Linked DNA regions of Homo sapiens: all the other regions are linked to region 4. Evidence: promoter capture Hi-C in 16 types of primary human blood cells and fetal thymus (Javierre and others, 2016). All regions are on one chromosome and are shown on one strand. The core of a region is centred on a gene start or on the middle of the fragment in contact, and the rest is flanking DNA. Distances in the headings are between cores, read along the strand shown. Region 1 overlaps CADM3 (cell adhesion molecule 3). Region 2 has its middle 14 kb from the start of TRR-TCT4-1. Region 3 has its middle 23 kb from the start of FCER1A. Region 4 holds the start of FCRL6 (Fc receptor like 6). Region 5 has its middle 16 kb from the start of ACKR1. Region 6 has its middle 14 kb from the start of CADM3.

Region 1 (2,995 bases), core at 211-2,710, 600 kb after region 4:
AAGGCCCTTTCCACTGTCTGCTTCTCCTCGTGCCTGCCTCTGATTGGTCTCCCTGCCCCTCCCAAGTTCTGCTGATGCTCTCTTTGTGCCTCTGACCTTTGTGCCGGATCAAGTAGTGGCCAAGGAAGATGAGCATGATGAGCAGCAGGAAGACAATGAAAGCCACGATCCCACCGATGATGGCGTGGTAGGTGCTGGAGGAGGAGGGCACCGGACTGGGGTCTGGAAGAAAGGGCAACACACACAGTCAGATCTGGGGAGAGCCCTTATCTTATAGCATTCCAACTTGGCCATGAATAGTCTTACACAGCAGGGAACAGGTACTAACATCAGGAAAATGGAGCAGTGTCATTCATCATGCCTTATCTTGTGCTTATACGCCACACCTGTATTATAGTATTTGTTAAAACAAATTGATGGATTAATGAATAAATAAATCTGCCCATACCTAGTCATCTAAGTTGAGTTCTTGGCACTGAAGCTTGGCCTTGGTCAAAGATCATTGCTTTAATGCCTCTCCTTCCTTCCCTCCCTCCCTCCATTTCTTCCTTCCTTCCTTCCTTCCTTCCTCCCTCCCTCCGCCTCTTCTTTTCCTTCCTTCTTCCTGCCTCTCTTCCTTCTTTCCTCTCTCCTCCTGCCCTGTTTCCTTCTTTCTTTTCTCCCTCTTTTTCTTTTTAATTTCTGGGTTATCAGAGTGTTCCTTCTCTGTCCCCATTCCCTCTTACCCTCCTGTCTGCTTGATATTCTGAGCCAGCTCCCCTAGCTCTAAGGGCCTTCTCAGCCTATTCACCCACTGCCCTAAGATCAGATAGGGAAGGAACAGTAAAACCTGATAGAGCCAAGAATTAGGCACTTTGACAGCACCTTACGAAAGATGATAGATGTAAGGGGCCACAATCTATCATCTATGTAAAGAACACTGTTCCTTTGTGGCAGGTGAGTTTAGTGTTCCAGTGAAACCCCAAGCCTCTAGTCTTTCCCAAGGAGGAGGCCTGGGACTCCGTCTTCACTTTGCCACCCTCAAAGTGTTTGTGCAAAGGAAAAGATGCTTTCTCTCATGCTAGTGGATGTCTCTGCCACTGAATATATAGCATCTGTCCTCCATGGCAACCTAGGTAGAGGATTGGCAACCTATGTAGAGGATTGACAACCTGTATAGAGGATCAACAGCACAGACTGGGCCGGGTGTGGCAAAGACATCAGCAGCCACAGCCAGAGTCCCAAATATCTGAGGACTCGCACGGGCCCAGCACACGGTTCTGATGTAGCCATAGACATAACTCTCCCACCCATGGGAGAGCTGCTGTTTTCCATGGACTCAGCTTGAGTCTTAATGCCTCATTGACTCCTTACATATTTTGTCTTTCCTACCTTATGTCTCCTCAGGCTTGGCTGGGCCCGCGTTTCAGTTCCTTGCCTGTCTACACCTTATTTGAAAAGAAAACATTTGTGTTCTGGTTTTTTATGCCCTGCTTGGGAGGAAGGGAGAGGATGAGTCCAGGAAATCTATGATATGATTGGGGTGGAGGTGATGGTGTAACTTGGAGGAAGCAGAGTGAGTTACCTGCTGTCTCTCTCTCAGGGAGTATGCGAGACAGTCCACATGGAAAATCAATCCTGGATACTTATTCCACAGGCTATGGAAATGGCAGTTCCTTAGAAAAGCACAGGTTTCCATGGCCAAACGACCTCTGGGGTCATCAATTACAGGCCCCTGTCTCTAGGTAGAACTGCATTTAATTTCGTTCCAGTCCCGCCCACTTAAGGATATTCCTGGAAGAAGATGCAGTAGCTCCTTCTACCACCAGGCGTCAGCACTGGAAACAGACGCAGTCCAACAGGACTCCCTCTGCCTGGCTGTTGAGCACAAAGCAGAGGGGAGATCAGCAAGATACCAACCACAAGGGCACAAGAACTTTCTCTCACTGCCAATCATCATCAGATTGGTCTGGAGAGATCTGGGGGCAGAGACCGGAGCTCAGTGCATTGTCCTTGCTCTTGGCATCCTACAATAGCCTTGTTGTGCTGAGGCAGCTCCCACATGCTGAGGTCTGCCCCTGGAGTGGGAATCACCCATCCAGACATTCTGATCCCAAGAACTCAGACCTCTTATCGCTGGGAGGCCTGGCTCTTATCCCCTCAACTGTTTTAATGAGTGTCTCAAGTAAGGGAGCCTCTGATGTTTCCCCGACAATGCATTTCCCCTATTCTGAGAAAAGATAAGACTTTCTGGCGGGACCCACAGCCATTGGGATCTTCAAAAAAATCGCCCGTCAACTCTCCATAAAGGGGCCTCTGTGTCACCCTGTCACTACTCCTGAAGCTGGGTTTTGTGGTCACAGCTTTGAGAAGAACTTCAGAGAAGGAGCATCACCTGGTCCTTCTAGAAGATATGGCATCTGAGAAAAGATTCTGTCTCTTGGCATAGTACAAGCTTCTCTCTATTTTCTGTCCAGACCCAGTACACTGTGCTTAAGGTGGGCAGAAAAAAAAATGACAGCAGTTGCATGCACCCAATACCTAGTCTTAGGAGAAGCAACTCTGAGAAGAGCCAGTTAGAGAAGGAAATGCACCTGCGCCTGCACTTGAGAGGCTTTGGGGCCTCTGCACACAGAATTATTGTTCTTGTTGTCAGACAAGTGCAGGGGATGGAAGATGGTGTCACCCAGGCCACCACTACCAAAGAAAGGCAGATGAGAGCCCACCCTTCTAATGTTTTTTCACTAAGCGGCCATTACACATTCTAGAGTGGACCTGGGACCTAAGCCCTCAGGGACCCCAGTGGTGGGCTGGTTTTCCTTTACTCCACTCCCCGTCACAGTTTGGGGATGTTATCAGGAAGCATTTTAAAAAAGGGAATAAGATGGACAGAGAAAGGAGATTCTGGAGGAAGAGAACTGAGGAGGGCTTACCATTAACATTGAGGGTGTAGTAGGCCTTGTAGCTGCCCATGTTGCTGGTGGCTGTGCAGCCGTAGGTGCCACTGTCACTCTTG
Region 2 (3,202 bases), core at 174-2,673, 670 kb after region 4:
TGCCTCAGAAATTACAGAGATTTATTCTGTCAAAGTTTTGGAACCCAGAAGTCCAAAATCAAGGTCAAGATGTAAGCAGATTTTCACTCCTCTGAACAAGCTTCTTAGCTTGGGTCTGCATACTTCCAAACTCTGCCTCTGTCTTTACCTGGCCATCTTTTCTGTGTCTCAGATCTCTCTCTGCATTTCTCTGTAAGGATGCCTGCCATTGGATTCCAGGCCCGCCCTAAATCTACAATGATCTCATCTCAAGATCCTTACATTAATTACATCTGCAAGATGCTTTTTACAAATGAGGTCACATTCATAGGTTTTAAATGTTAAAACCTGGGCATGTCTTTTTGGGGTCCACTGTTCAATCCACTGCAGTTAGGAGATTGGATGAGTTTCTGACAAGTGGACTTGATAATTTCTGTGAGGTAACAATGTGGGTTATTTGCTGAGAATGTGTCCCAATGTAGAGGGATCAAACATATAAGGGGAGTGAAGAAATCTTGAAGTATCATTATTAAAATATGAAGAGTGAGCTGACTAGGAAATGTAGTTTGTGGAGCAGTGTGGAGAACCAGATGAAGTTTATTGTCATGAATTTATAGTTGTGTGATTTTCCCTAGCAATGATTAGCAGCCCGGGTGCAAACACTGAGGAAGCTGAGAGTTAAAGTATCTAGATCCTGGAAAGAGGGGGTGTGGGAGGGAAGGAAGGACAAAGGCAGAGGGGGTTAGGATACTGGCAAGTGGCTTTCCATGGAAGGCCATAGAGGTGAAGAAGTCGGATAGAGGACTACTGGCTTGGTCAAAAGCAGTCAAAAGAGTGGGAGTAACTGAGTGAACTCGCTATAACGATACTAGGCCATTCTCCAAGTACAGAATATTTATTACTTTAAACACACAAAAAAATCTGGATTAGTGGTTGCAGTAAAGGCAAATAGAAGTTTAATGGAGATAGAAAACTCAAAGGAAAGAGAGGACGGGATTCTGGACAGGCCACTCGTGTAACCCCAGAGTCATGCAGAAAAATGGCAGGGCTTGGGGTGGTGTGTGTGTGTGTGTGTGTGTGTGTGTGTAAGCCTTGGCACATAAGATGACAATTTATAACAAAGCAATTATTTTATTGTGGGTTTATGATACATTTTTTATTATCACACTCCTATCACCATATCTGGCAACTATTTTATACTAAGCACTGTGCTGAGAGATGGGGAGGTTGCAATAAACAAGACATACAAAGTCCTGACTCTCCAGAGGCATGTGTTCTACTAGGAGAGACTGACAAAAAGAAAAGAAACAGAAACAAGTAAACAAAGTTGTTGCAGTTTGTAATGAGTTTGTTATGAAGGGAACAGATTAAGAGATTGCAGCAGAGACTGATGGGCAGACTAACTTTGGTTAAGATGAAAAAGAAGGCACTTTCAGTTGGTGACATGAGAAGTAGGGAGATGAATACTCCAGGGAAAGGGCTGCTACAACAAAGTGCCACAGACCTGGTGGTTTATAAACAACAGAAATTTATTTCTCACAGTTCTGGAGGCTATGAGAAATCCAGCCTTGGGAAGTCCAAGGTCAAGGCAGATACAGTGTGTGGTGAGGGCCCACTTGCTGACCCATAGATGGCTATGTCCTCATGTGGTGGAAACAAGGAACAAACTTCCTTGTCCCTCTTTCATAAGAGCACTTATGAAATCCCATTAGGGATCCCATTAAGGATCCCAACAGGGAATAGTTTTGCTGCGTCATAGATTACATTTCTGATCAGCTTCACCAAGGTATTCTTTCTTGCTTCCCAAAGTGATACTATCCATTTTAGATTGTGTTTTCATTACTGATAATACCAGAGACTTTGCCTCCCAATGGCCCCATGCCATCACATTGGGATTGGGATTTCAACATAGGAATTTTGTGGGGACACAGACATTCAGACCATAACACTAGTCAGGGCCGACACTGATCTGTTACTTGACTCAAGATAGTGTGGCGTGAGAGCAGAGGCGACCCTAAGGGCCCCGTGCACATTTGGGTTACATTAATTTTTTATTGTGAAATAAATTATACATACCCTAGGGTATATGGAATGTATATGAACCATTTAGAAAGTATAATCACAATAATAAAATAAACACTCAGGATCCTACCAGTCAGCTTAAAATGAGAACATCACTAGTTCTTTGAAGACTCTCGGGTGAACCTCATCAATTGCATTCTTTCTCAGTCCCTAGGGGTAGGTAACCAATCATCCCCTGGCTTGTTTATAGTTTTATTTCACATATAGCTATCCCCAAATAATATATTACTTTGTTTTGCTTTTTAAACTTTATGTAAGTGGAAACATATTCTTATATGAGTTGTTTTTGGCCCCTTTACCATTGTGTTTTGAGGTTTGTCCATGTTCTTGAATATACAACAGTTTATGTTCATTAATGGATAATGCTCCATGGTGTGAGTATAACACAATGTATTAATGCATTCTGCCTTTGATGGACATGCAGTTTTTTTCCAGGTTTTTTGTCTATTATAAACAATGCTGTTGGAATAATCTTATATCTCCTAGAGCAAGCAATTTCAGATTATACACTTGGGAATTGGATTGCTGAGTCATAGTTTATATTCCTGTTCGGTTTCACCAGGGTATGCTTTCTTGCTTTCCAAAGTAATTCTATCAATTTTTTTTTTTTTTTTTTTGAGACGTAGTCTCGCTCTGTCACCCAGGCTGGAGTGCAGTGGTGCCATTTCGGCTCACTGCAAGCTTCGCCTCCCAGGTTCACGCCATTCTCCTGCCTCAGCCTCTCGAGTAGCTGGGACTACAGGCACCCGCCACCATACCCAGCTAATTTTTTTTGTATTTTTAGTAGAGACAGGGTTTCACCGTGTTAGCCAGGATGGTCTCGATCTCCTGACCTCGTGATCCGCCCCCCTCAGCCTCCCAAAGTGCTGGGATTACAGGCGTGAACCACCGTGCCCGGCCTATTCTATCAATTTTAGATTACATTTTCATAACTGATAATACCAGAGACTTTGCAAACTGGAGGAAGAGATATTACCTGGTAACTACCTATAGCAGTGGCCACAGTGCAGGAAATGGGTGGAGACTCCCAGGCCAGTGGCAGTTTAGTCTTGCATTTTCCTTCGTCCTTCCCTGACTTCCATTCTCAGACAGGAAATAGCTCTCATCACATGAATGTGTTCAGAAGGCTTTTGAGAAGCTG
Region 3 (2,796 bases), core at 220-2,719, 520 kb after region 4:
GGTTGTATTTAGTCCTGAGAAGACTTTCTGAGGAGGAGGAGACTCAAGTCAAGCATTGAAAAAAGAGAGGAACATCTCTTGTTTTAAAAAATCTGGGGTGACAGTCAGGTTTGAAGCTGTTTGATGACTTATGAAAAGAGTTTGTGAAACAAGCAGACAGGAGCAACAGGGAGAAAGTAAACACTTATGTTATGTTGGAGCAGAGAGCATTGTCTTGTTTGGCAACCCAGAAAGAAAGATCTTTAAAGAGACAATCGAAATTGTGGTTTAAACAAAGTGGAAGAGGTTGAAAAATTTGTTTTAGGTAAACAAAATCTGAAACTGTAATATAAAAGAAAATTCCTTTCAAATTTAACTATGCATTTCCTATTTCTTTAGCCTAGTTTTTCTCTAACACTTATGTGCTAGGTCACCAAGAAATCTTTTTCAAACTTACCCCGGTGTCTTTTCTTCCATTTTTTCATCCCTATTTAGTCCCATATATATATATATACACACACACACACATTGTCATGCATGAAATTGTTTTCTTATCGTGTTTTTCTGTCTATATCTATAGGTGAACAGTCGTCCCCAATAACTTGGCATCCATCCACGAACAGAATCCTTATTATCTTCTTAGATGATTCACCTGCTCAAAGCATTGGGCACTGATGTCTTCTGACTAATTGACCTAAGTCTCTGTACTTTCAATCTGTTTATTTATCCAACGAAGAGAGAGAACCACACAGTGATAAGGGAGTTTGTTTTCCAGGGTTTCTCCAGCTTTCATGAACACAAGCTTACCCTCTTTGTGGTATTTCTTACCTTGTGTCTTTTAACCCTGGCTGGCAATGTCATAATTGTGACAATTATCAGCATTGATCGTCACCTTCACACCCCCATGTACTTCTTTGTTAGTATGCTTTCCACTTCAGAGACTGTCTACACATTAGTCATTGTACCACGGATGCTCTCCAGTCTCTTAAGTCTAAGCCAACCTATCTCTTTGGGTGGCTGTGCCACCCAGATGTTTTTTTTATTACCTTGGCCATCAACAACTGCTTTCTGCTCACAGCAATGGGGTATGATCGCTATGTGGCCATCTGTAACCCTTTGAGGTACATGATCATCATGAACAAGAAAGTGTGTGTCCAGCTGGTATGTGGGTCCTGCAGTGTTGGGCTGCTTGTGGCCATAGTTCAGATTTCATCTGTGTTCAGGCTGCCTTTTTGTGATAAACAGGTGGCCCATTATTTCTGTGATATCCACCCAGTTATGAAACTTTCCTGTGTTGATACCACTCTACATGACCTAATTAATTTTGTTGTTAGTTCCCTGGTTATTGTGGTGCCGCTGGGTTTGGTCTTCATCTCCTACATCCTCATCATCTCTACCATCCTCAAGGTCACCTCTCCTGAGGGCCGGAAAAAGGCTTTTGCAACTTGTGCCTCCCACCTCACTGTGGTTATCATCCACTATGGCTGTGCCTCCATTGCCTACCTCAAGCCCAAGTCAGAGAACACCAGGGATCAGGACCAGCTAATTTCAGTGACATACACCGTCTTTACTCCACTACTTAATCCTGTTGTGTACACTTTGAGGAACAAGGAGGTCAAGAATGCCCTTCACCGTGCTATTGGCAAAAAACCTTTTGCCTAGAATCTTCATCAGTTTGACATATAGTCAGTCATAGTCTGGGTATTTTTTTAAGCTCGAGAAAATTGAATCCTATCATTCATCCTCTAACCAAAGAGAGTTGCAAAATTTGGTGGTAATGCGACATTAAGGAACCAAGAGTCTCCATGATTTGACTTTGTTTTTACCATCATTCTCCTATACCTTCTACTAACCACACAGGTTACCACCAGGGGAGTGGTCAGTTGCTGCTCACACAGGGGCAAAGCTGTAGGGAATCGTAAGCAAGGAGTAGCTGATTGTTATCATTTGTTGAAAGCAGAAAAGTGGGTGGCATAACACCTATTGGAAGTACTAGGTTGACAGGTCAACCTAAATGTCATATAGATATTGAGCTCTAAAACTTTAAAGAGGACATGGTTGGTGTACAGGGTGTCTTGAAAACAGTCAAAACTACCTTCCCACTTATCATCACTTTCTACTTTAAGCATTGACAAGAGTAGCAAATCTTGACATTCCAGAAAAAATATTATAAGCTTTAAACATTCTCATCTGCCTTGGAGACCCATGAAATTGTTTTCCAATTTTGTTGAGGCTCACATTAGAACTATTTCCTCGGTGAGACTCTGTTACCAGTATGTTCAGTGTTAGTAAGCAACATGGTCACATCCAACCTCTGAATTTCACTGTGCTTATGTATGCTTTCTGTGGGAGTAACACATGCTATACTGAATTCACAAATATAGGGATATCTGATATCTGAGGATTTTTTGTAATTGAGTTTATTTTTATCACCTTCCAACTAATGCTTGCTGACTTAGATCTGGAAATTAGCCCATGATTTTCATTCTTCTCTGTGTAGAACATAATCTGATCCATGCCTTGCCTTTACCCTTTTCATTTCTACACGGAAGTCCATGTCTTGCCTTTACCCTTTTCGTGGAAATCCATGCTACAAGGCAATCCATGCCTTGCCTTTAACCCTTTTCATTTCTACATGGATGAATTTATTTTCTGTGTATAGTTGGGTACCTAGTTTAAATTCTAAGTTTAAATACAGTTCTAAACAAGAGTCTGGGAGTTTATTGTCTTCTAAAGGAGAAAGTTATTTTGATTTGCGAGAAAGGATTAAGATTTTAGATTTATTCGGCCTGGAGAAAAAAAGACAGAACTTGCCAT
Region 4 (3,121 bases), core at 524-3,023:
ACGCTGTGTGAGAATGCGGGGAGCAGCCTCCAGTGGTAGGAGGGAAGTTGGCTAATGTTCAGCTCAGAAGAAAATTAAGCCTAATTTCCCAAACTTTAAATACATATTTCACATTCAGCCAGGTCCCCACATGCTCAATGTCAGGATTCCTTTCCTCCCGGAGCCCTGACAGCCAATAATAGTAATAGCCACCAATTTATTATGACCACACCCTGCTCTTGAGAGAGGAAATAGCAGCTCTACACTTATGGTAAGATAAATGTTGCTACACACCCAGCCCCAGTGTCTGTGTTTTAGGCTGTTTTTCCAGGGTCCCTGAGCATCAAGTGGGACCAAATTTGCTGGTGCTGGATTCTCCATTACACTGTGCACCAGTCAGCCGGTCACTGATTCCCTTCCTCTCCTCATTTGCTGTCTGTCATCCTCGTCCTGGGTTCCAAGCTGGAACACTCTCAGACTGTATCTAGACAAGTCCAAGGGCTGTTCCTTTTACAAGGTAGTGCCGGTAGTGCCATTTGCCCCTGGGAGTCTTCTGCCTGGAGTATATCCAGGCATTAGGCTATCCTGTCCCCGCCTCAGTGTGAGCATTAGACCTTTTCATTTGTCCAAATGGCCATTCATAGAACACACGAGTAGCATGCTATGCTGGAGAAGGAACATTGAGTGGAAGGGGCATTTTCCTCACAGGGTCAAATTCTCACAAACTCTGTCCAGGAAGAGGTTATATTTAGGAACAGTTTTGCTTTTCTAGTTCAAGGAATACAAATAGCAAGCAAGCTATTGGGACCAAGAATTAAACAAAAAGTAGGTCCACTTGGAAACTGTAAAGTGAAACAAAATATATGCCAAATTATTTCTTTTAGGTATAAGGGGGGTGACACTGGCTGAGACTGAGCTGGGTCTGGGGGAGCCCAGTGACCCTCTGCGTGCAATCCTCTACCCTTAGACCAGCTCTCTTAGTTACAAGTAGCCTGCATGAGAAGAAATGGAGAGAAGAGAGAGAGAGACATGGATCAGACAATGGAGTTGATTCTTCAAACCAGCCCCATGGATCTGAAACAGCTCCCAACAGAGAGAAGATGTAGGCGGAAGAGAGACAGTCAATTTGAAAAGGGCTTTGGTTACTCAGAGCACAGGCCTTTCAACCAGGTGAGAGGTCTGGCCATTGTTACCTGGTTCTAAGAAAATGCTGAGGCTCCATAAAAATATGTCACCCTGTAAAATTCCACCTCCCATTGCTGAGCAAAATGCCTGGGACTGTTTCCCCTCATTTCCCTGACTCCTTCCCTGTTGCCCCCAGCAGCCTCCTTCCCTCCTGCAACCTCCATTTCCTTTTGAGACAGCTCTGATTAGTATTTTAACCTGATGTCACAAGGTAGAAATGTCATTGGGAAGTTAGGGGACTTTGTAATGTGATTTTCTGCCTCCCTAATTTATCTCTGACATATCAAAGGGCTGCGCTGCCAAGGACCCAGGACTACGGGGTAGGAAACACTGAGGAGTTTCTCCTACCCCAGTGCCCATCTCTCCCAAGCATGCCCAGGTGCACACACCTGTCTTGAGCTCCAGCCACAAACCCACTGGAATTGGGAAAGGTAAGATGAGGAACTTGGTGTCTCAGGGATGACTTACGGTCCTTAGTGCTCCAAGAGGGGATGCCCATGCTCGTTGACTTACCAAAGAGCAGCACAGCCGTCCAGAGCAGCATGGGGCCTGTTCTGGCACAGCGGAGGGAACACAGGTCAGAAACAGGTCAGGGCGAAGCCGGCAGAGAGCAACCAGGCCTCAGGACCGAAGGTGGGTGGGTGGCCTGAGCTGGGTGGTGCTATAGCTTGATAGCCAAAATAGGAAGTGGAAAAGAAACTTACAAAGCTCTAATTGATATTTCCTCTTTGGTTGAAGAAGTATTACATGAATAAATTTTCCTGAACACTAAGTATGAAGGAGTCGGTAAATCACTAATAAATCCCTGACATTTTCTGCAGCTTCAACAAGCCTATGCCAGGGAACTAGGATGGAACATGGTTATGGGACACCTCCATTAGAAAGGTCCAGAGACTGCCCGAATTTGCTTGGCTTCAGCGTCATTCAGCCTGGGAGACAGCGCAGCACTGTAAAACTAAGATCATCTACCCCTTGACCACCGAGTGACCTCCCAGCTTCCAAGGAGCTCCTGTCTCCAGAGGTAAATGTGTGTGGATGCTGCAATGCGATGGAGAAGTGGAGCCCTGAGGATGCTTCACAGGATCCTCAGTTCAGGAGGGAATCAGACATCGATGAGTCTGGAGTAGAACACAGATGGAGCTTCGGCATCTGAGGCTTTTAAGACTGTCAGTATGATTTTGAGAACTATTCCTTAAAAGACACCATTAAGAGAAGGAACAGGCAAGCTGTGGTGTGATGAGATAGTTTAAATACATGTAGCTGACAAAGGGCCCACAGAAGAAATATAAGAATTTCTGCAAGTCAGTAAGAAAAGGACAGACAACATACTAGAAAAATGGGCAAAAATAATTGGATAGGTACTTCACAGAAGCAGATATCCACGTGTCAAATCAACATAGCAAAAGGAGCTAGACATCATAAATCACCGTGGAAATGCAAATTTAAACCATAATAAGATACCACTACACCTTCCATAAGAATAAGGGAGTGATACCAGCTGAGACTGAGCTGGGTCTGGGGGAGCCCGTGACCCTCCCCATGCAATCCTCTACTGAGTATTGGTGAGGATGTGAAGAAACTAGAACTCTTGTACACCACTAGTGGGAATATAAATTGGTACAGTCACTAGAAAATGGCTTGGCAGAATCTACCAAAACTAAACACAGGGATCCCTGATGGCTCAGCATTTTCACTCCTGGGTAAATGTCAAACAGAAATGTATACATATAAGCCTGAAAAAACATATACAAGAGTGCTCATAGCAGCATCATTTGTAATAGATAAAAACTGGAAATTATTCAATGTTCCCTCAACAGAAAAAGAGGTCACACATTCTCATCTCCTCTGTGGACAGAACATGGGAGTTCACGGTGAAACACAGAGTCAGGCAAAATACTAGGAAGCATTTTCATTTTCTTGTTTCTTTTCTTTCTTTTTTCTTTTTTTTATTGAGAAG
Region 5 (2,895 bases), core at 43-2,542, 580 kb after region 4:
CACATGGTCCTGTAAGGACAATAATAAGACTAATGCTCACGATACACTGAGGATTCACTATGTGCCAGGAACTGTGCTCAGCACTTTTGCATATATTAACAAACTGATTCCTCAGAAGAGCATGACAAAGTCGATGTCATATTTATCTTCTTGTTATAGATGAAAGATCTAAGAAACAAAGTGGTTAAGTTACTGACCCAAGGCCAAAAACCCAATAAGTAGCAGAGTTGGGATTTTAATCTAAATAAGCTGGTCCAAGAGTTGACACTCTTAACCTCTATGCTCTCCTTCTATCGATTTCGCAATACTCCTCAGGACATTGTATGGCAAGTCAGAGCAGAATGCATAGGGCTTTGGCAAAATATAGTTTCAAATAGCTTTCAAAGGGGATATTCCATGTAAAAGGAAGAAGAAATGATAGAATAAAATGGAGGTGATAAAATGGAAACATGGCAAAGAAAAAGCAACCCTAATAAACTCTTAAATTCTTGCCATGTTCTCCAGAGAGGTTTTTAAGTTGGAAAAGGTAGATTAAATATTGTAGTCTTTAAGCCAAATTAAGAAGGCAAAGCTTCCAGTTTGCTCTAAAATATTAGTGGTTTTAGGATTTTGAAGATATTAACTGGCCCAAAGGGAAATAAGACACATTTGTGCTGTGATTGTAGCATAAAAGTAGAGAGCTCAGGTCAGAAGGTATAAAAGGGAAATATCATGGAAGCCAAGACCCTAAAGACCACGCAGGCCAGCGCTTTGTCCCATTTTACTCCATGTTACCAACTAGATCTGAAGTTTATGCTCAGTTCTGGGTATCACGTTTTGTGGAGAGTATTGACTAATCATTACTCCACCCATGTCCAGAGAAGTAAAAACCAATGGTAAACAATAGGTACTGTGCTGTGTGGAGATCTCTTGGTGGAAATGGGGCTGTCTTATCACTATAGGTGTAGGTCAGGTGCGGTGGCTCATGCCTGTAATCCCAGCACTTTGGGAGGCTGAAGTGGGTGGATCACCTGAGGTCAGGAGTTCGAGACCAGCCTGGCCAACATGGTGAAACCCCGTCTCTACTAAAAATACCAAAGAAAAAAAAAATGAGCCGGGAGTGGCAGCAGACGCCTGTAATCCCAGCTACTCTGGAGGCTGAGGCAGGAGAATCGCTCCAACCCAGGAGGGGAGGCTTCAGTGAGCCAAAGTCGTGCCATTGCACTCTAGCCCGGGCAACAAGAGCAAAACTCCAACTCGAGCAACAACAACAAGAACAATAAAACCATAGGTATAACATTTGAATGGTAATTCACTATTTACAAAGTGCTTTCACAGGCATTATTTTCCTTGATCCCAACAACATTCTTCACCAGTAAATACTCCTAGCCCATTTAACAAAAGTTCAGAGGAGGAAATCAAGATGGTAGCAGAACTGGAACTGAGTTTAAGCCAAAGGCTCTGCTCACTATAACCAAGCTCCCTTATTGTTGCTGTCTTCAAAGATCTGAAAGACAATCATGTAGAAGAGGGGTTAGATTGTCCTCTTAGCTCTATCTGAGCTCTAAAGTATAAATAACTTTTCAGCACCCTGACCCTGTTCAAATGGAGCCAACAGGATGACACATAAAGTTATTCCACTGATGGGAAATTTAGTCTATTAGAGCAGTGGTTCTCAGACTTCTACATTTCATGAACAAAACAACAACAATAATAAATGGAGAACTTACATGGGATTAACAATTTTACCACCTACCTTTTGTCAGCTCACTGAAAAAAAAAGAAACTGAACAGCAAGGAAAGAACAGCTTACTGCCACACTGCCTTTCTGTATTCCATTTTGCTACAGACTGGTTAAAAAAAAAAAAAAAAAGTCACAAATTGGCAACAATCCACAGACCATTATTTGGGAAACATTGGATTAGAGAGTTTTTAAGGTTCTTTCTAATTTTAAAAATAGTACGACTTTAAATCATGTATTTTGGTACTTAATTATGCCTTTCTTAAATTTTAGCTAACATCTTGAAAGCTTACTCAGTGCCAAGCAATGTGTTAAGTTCTGTACATGTCAGTCAATTTAATGCTCCAAATAACCCAATGTAAAAGATACTGCTGGTCTACTTTCATTGGAAACTAAGACTCAGAGAAGTTCTGTGACTTGTCTCAGGTTGCACAGCTGAATTGAACTTTGATATCTAACTTCAGTGCCTCTACTTTTAACGACTGCTGTAAGAGCGAATGTTTGTGTCCCATCAAAATTCATATGTTGAAATCCTAACCCCCAATATAATGGTTAGGAGGTGGGGCCTTTGGAGCAAGATTAGGTCATGAAGGCTTAAGTGCCATTATAAAAGAGACCCCAGAGACTCCCCTTGTCCCTTCTGCCACATGAGGACATGAAAGAAGGCAACTGTCTAAGAACCAGGAAACTGGACCTCACCGGATGCCGAATCTGCCAGCACTTTGATCTAGGACTTTCCAGCATGGAGAACTGTGAGAAATGGATGTTTGTTGTTCATAAGCCACCCGGCCTATGGCATTTTGTTATAGCAGTCTGAAGAGACTAAGACAACTGTGTTATATGCCTTCTATTATATTATTAATATTAATAAAATATTTCAAGTATTAAAATTTTTATAGACTCTGAGTTCGTAGAAACCAAGGTCTGTATGTTTTTCATTTCTGAATTCCACAATAACAGTACAATATCTACACTGCATTGTACCCTAAAACTTAAAATATAATAAATAAAAAAAAATTAAGATGTTTACTGAATGCCTACTAGAGTTCAGCTACTCAGCTTGGCTGAGGCACACAGAAGGTATTTGTTGATTAGTTGGTCAGCAAATTCATATAGGAGAATTTTGAATCTATGATTAGTAAAACAGTTCTCTCATTTAACTCATATGCTATCTC
Region 6 (2,763 bases), core at 116-2,615, 650 kb after region 4:
AAAAGCATAAAACATATACATATGTGTATGTAAAATCTTATATGCATATAAATATGTGTTTAAGTAAATGAATAGTTACTTACTGGCTGTGTGACTTCAGGCAAGATACTTAACCGCCTCAGCATTTTTTTTCATTGTGTGGAAAATAGAGATAATTTTACATGACCCCTAGGGTGGTATGATGTGAAAATTAAATAAATTAATCTATTTAAATTGCTTTAAATAGCGCCTGGCACATAGTAGGCACTTGAGTGTTTCTATTGTTCAGATGCATATTAAACTTGGAAAATTATTTTCTGGGCCAGGAGTGAGACTTAAGTCATAAGGGGGACTATAATTGTCCATATTATATACTTCATATTTTTATAATGTGTGCCTATGTATTGAATGATTAATTTTTTTTAAATTAAATGCTTATTCTAAGAATATGAGTTAAAAGATGATTATAGAAATCCAGGAACAAAGTAAAAGAGTCCTGAGCAAGGGCAGTGGAATTGGGAATGGAAAAGAGGTGCTACGTTTGGTGTTGGTTATGGGAAGCAAGACAGAGGGAGAAGGCTGAGGCAGCTCTCAGTTTTGGCTTTTGAGTGACTTGGAAAATGCTGAACCATGAAAAGAAATAGTGGAATTAGGAGAAGCTTTTTGTGGGGTTTAGTATTTTGGAATGAAGGAGGATTAGTGTCTTACTTGAGGCTGCTAAAACAGAATACCATAAACTATGTGGCTTAAACAACAGACTTTGGTTTCTCACAGTTCTGGAGGCTGGGAAGTCCAAGATCAAGGTACTGGTGGATTTGATTCCTGTTGAGTGTCCTCTTCGTGGTTTGCAGACAGCCACCTTCTCAATGTGTCTTCACATGGTGGAAAAAGAGATTGTCTCCCTGTGTCTCTTCTTATAATGACACTAATTCCATTTATTAGAGTTCCACCTTCATGACCAAATCACCTCTCATAGGACTCACATCTAAATACATGAGGGATTAGAGTGTTAACATCTAAATTTGCAGGAGACATAATCAATTTGTAACAATTTTGTTAGATTACATTGAGTTTAAGCTGAGGGCAACCCATCAAGTAGGAAATATTGAATAGACTGGATATGAAAACTGGAGCTCTGGAGAAAGTTGAACGTTCTACCACTTTGAAGTAGACCAGCAGAAGAAGCCTAAAGTTCTCAGTGTCATTTTAAGAGTTCCCATCTAATACTTGCATTACAAAAATCAAGAACTGTGGTATTATAGGATGATATGTGTCTAGGAGGACAAAGACCTGTTCTAGTGGTTTTGATTGTTGATTCTTTTTCTTTGGTAAACATACATTGAACAACTACCATGTGCCAGGCACTGCCCAGACTATCAAGGGTAAAAAAACTCAAGTTTCTCTCTCTCTGGTAGGAACAGAGATTCACAAAATTGAGTACGTTACAGAGTGCTCAGTCCTCCGATAGCCATATGCACAGGGTGCAGTAATGGTGTGAAGATGGGTGTGATCCAGTCTGCTTGGGGTTGTGGTGGATGTCAGGGAAGATATTATAAAAAATGAGGTGATTGAAACTGAGTCTTCAAAGAGGAGGAACAGTCTTCCAGACAGATGTGAGGGTGGAGACAGGAGAAAGGCATTCCAAAAAGAGAAACCATTGCAGCATACCAAGTCATATTAGTATGGAAAACGAACCTTTTTTTTTTCATTTTGAGAACTCTAAGTACTTATTGTAAAATGTAAGCTGAGAGGGGAGGCTGGGGGATAATAGTAACTGATGTTGCAAAAATGGACGGGAATCAGATCACAGATGGCTTTTAGTCTCTTCTTTAGACAAGAGAGAACTTTAAGGGGTTTTGCCTTCAAGAAAAATTATAATTGCTCTGTTGGTGGTGTAGCTGATTGGCAGAAAGGCAGCAGGGATGGTTACACGTAGACAAGTGAGGGATTATTAACATATCAAATAGTCCTGGCTGCATCATCCTGATACCAAAGCCTGGCAGAAACACAACAAAAAAAGAGAATTTTAGACCAATATCCCTGATGAACATTGATGTGAAAATCCTCAATAAAATACTGGCAATCCAAATCCAGCAGCACATCAAAAAGCTTACCCACCATGATCAAGTCAGCTTCATCCCTGGGATGCAAGGCTGGTTCAACATACACAAATCAATAAACGTAATCCATCACATGAACAGATCCAACGACAAAAACCACATGATTATCTCAATAGATGCAGAGAAGGCCTTTGACAAAATTCAACACCCCTTCAAGCTAAAAACTCTCAATAAACTAGGTATTGATGGAAGGTATCTCAAAATAATAAGAGCTATTTATGACAAACCCACAGCCAATATCATACTGAATGGGCAAAAACTGGAAGCATTCCCTTATAAAACTGGCACCAGACAAGGATGCCCTCTCTCATCACTCCTATTCAACATTGTATTGGAAGTTCTGGCCAGGGCAATCAGGCAGGAGAAGGAAATAAAGGGTATTCAATTAGGAAAAGAGGAAGTCAAATTGTCCCTGTTTGCAGATGACAAGATTGTATACTTAGAAAACCCCATCTTCTCAGCCCCAAAACTCTTAAGCTGATAAGCAACTTCAGCAAAGTCTCAGGATACAAAATCAATGTGCAAAAATCATAAGCATTCCTATTCTCCACCAATAACAGACAGAGAGCCAAAACATGAGTGAACTCCCATTCACAATTGCTTCAAAGAGAATAAAATACCTAGGAATCCAACTTACAAGGGATGTGAAGGACCTCTTCAAGGA

What was found. The method cuts DNA at HindIII sites, captures the fragments that hold promoters and counts their contacts. A CHiCAGO score of 5 or more calls a contact.
Region 1: a contact is called between a fragment that was not itself captured here and the fragment with the promoter of FCRL6 in region 4, in 5 of 17 cell types (endothelial precursors, megakaryocytes, M2 macrophages and 2 more). The highest score is 15.9, in endothelial precursors.
Region 2: a fragment that was not itself captured here is called in contact with the fragment with the promoter of FCRL6 in region 4 in 6 of 17 cell types (endothelial precursors, M2 macrophages, M1 macrophages and 3 more); the score reaches 13.2 in endothelial precursors.
Region 3: a fragment that was not itself captured here is called in contact with the fragment with the promoter of FCRL6 in region 4 in 1 of 17 cell types (M2 macrophages); the score reaches 5.3 in M2 macrophages.
Region 5: a fragment that was not itself captured here is called in contact with the fragment with the promoter of FCRL6 in region 4 in 6 of 17 cell types (megakaryocytes, endothelial precursors, M2 macrophages and 3 more); the score reaches 19.7 in megakaryocytes.
Region 6: a fragment that was not itself captured here is called in contact with the fragment with the promoter of FCRL6 in region 4 in 4 of 17 cell types (endothelial precursors, megakaryocytes, M2 macrophages and 1 more); the score reaches 15.2 in endothelial precursors.

What each region holds. Positions count from the first base shown.
Region 1 is chr1:159,196,978-159,199,972 of GRCh38, reverse strand. It overlaps CADM3 (cell adhesion molecule 3), which reads right to left. Exons shown (of 9, transcript NM_001127173.3): 7 at 2,913-2,995; 8 at 97-222. CADM3-AS1 (CADM3 antisense RNA 1) reads left to right here. Exons shown (of 4, transcript NR_037870.1): 3 at 114-187; 4 at 1,752-2,995. Among named protein-coding and RNA genes, the nearest start is that of CADM3-AS1, 3.9 kb to the left of the region's middle. The HindIII fragment of the contact is 1,953 bases long and covers 484-2,436 here.
Region 2 is chr1:159,126,125-159,129,326 of GRCh38, reverse strand. It overlaps a transcript of AIM2 not described here. Among named protein-coding and RNA genes, the nearest start is that of TRR-TCT4-1, 14 kb to the left of the region's middle. The HindIII fragment of the contact is 2,642 bases long and covers 103-2,744 here.
Region 3 is chr1:159,277,886-159,280,681 of GRCh38, reverse strand. It overlaps the pseudogene OR10J2P. Among named protein-coding and RNA genes, the nearest start is that of FCER1A, 23 kb to the left of the region's middle. The HindIII fragment of the contact is 1,372 bases long and covers 784-2,155 here.
Region 4 is chr1:159,801,012-159,804,132 of GRCh38, reverse strand. It overlaps FCRL6 (Fc receptor like 6), which reads right to left and starts at 1,773. Exons shown (of 10, transcript NM_001004310.3): 1 at 1,678-1,773. The coding sequence starts at 1,708. LOC105371464 (a long non-coding RNA gene) reads left to right here. Exons shown (of 3, transcript XR_922195.2): 1 at 1-1,595; 2 at 1,986-2,185. The HindIII fragment of the contact is 5,270 bases long and covers 1-3,121 here.
Region 5 is chr1:159,219,678-159,222,572 of GRCh38, reverse strand. No RefSeq gene overlaps it. Among named protein-coding and RNA genes, the nearest start is that of ACKR1, 16 kb to the right of the region's middle. The HindIII fragment of the contact is 1,437 bases long and covers 574-2,010 here.
Region 6 is chr1:159,155,939-159,158,701 of GRCh38, reverse strand. No RefSeq gene overlaps it. Among named protein-coding and RNA genes, the nearest start is that of CADM3, 14 kb to the left of the region's middle. The HindIII fragment of the contact is 1,450 bases long and covers 641-2,090 here.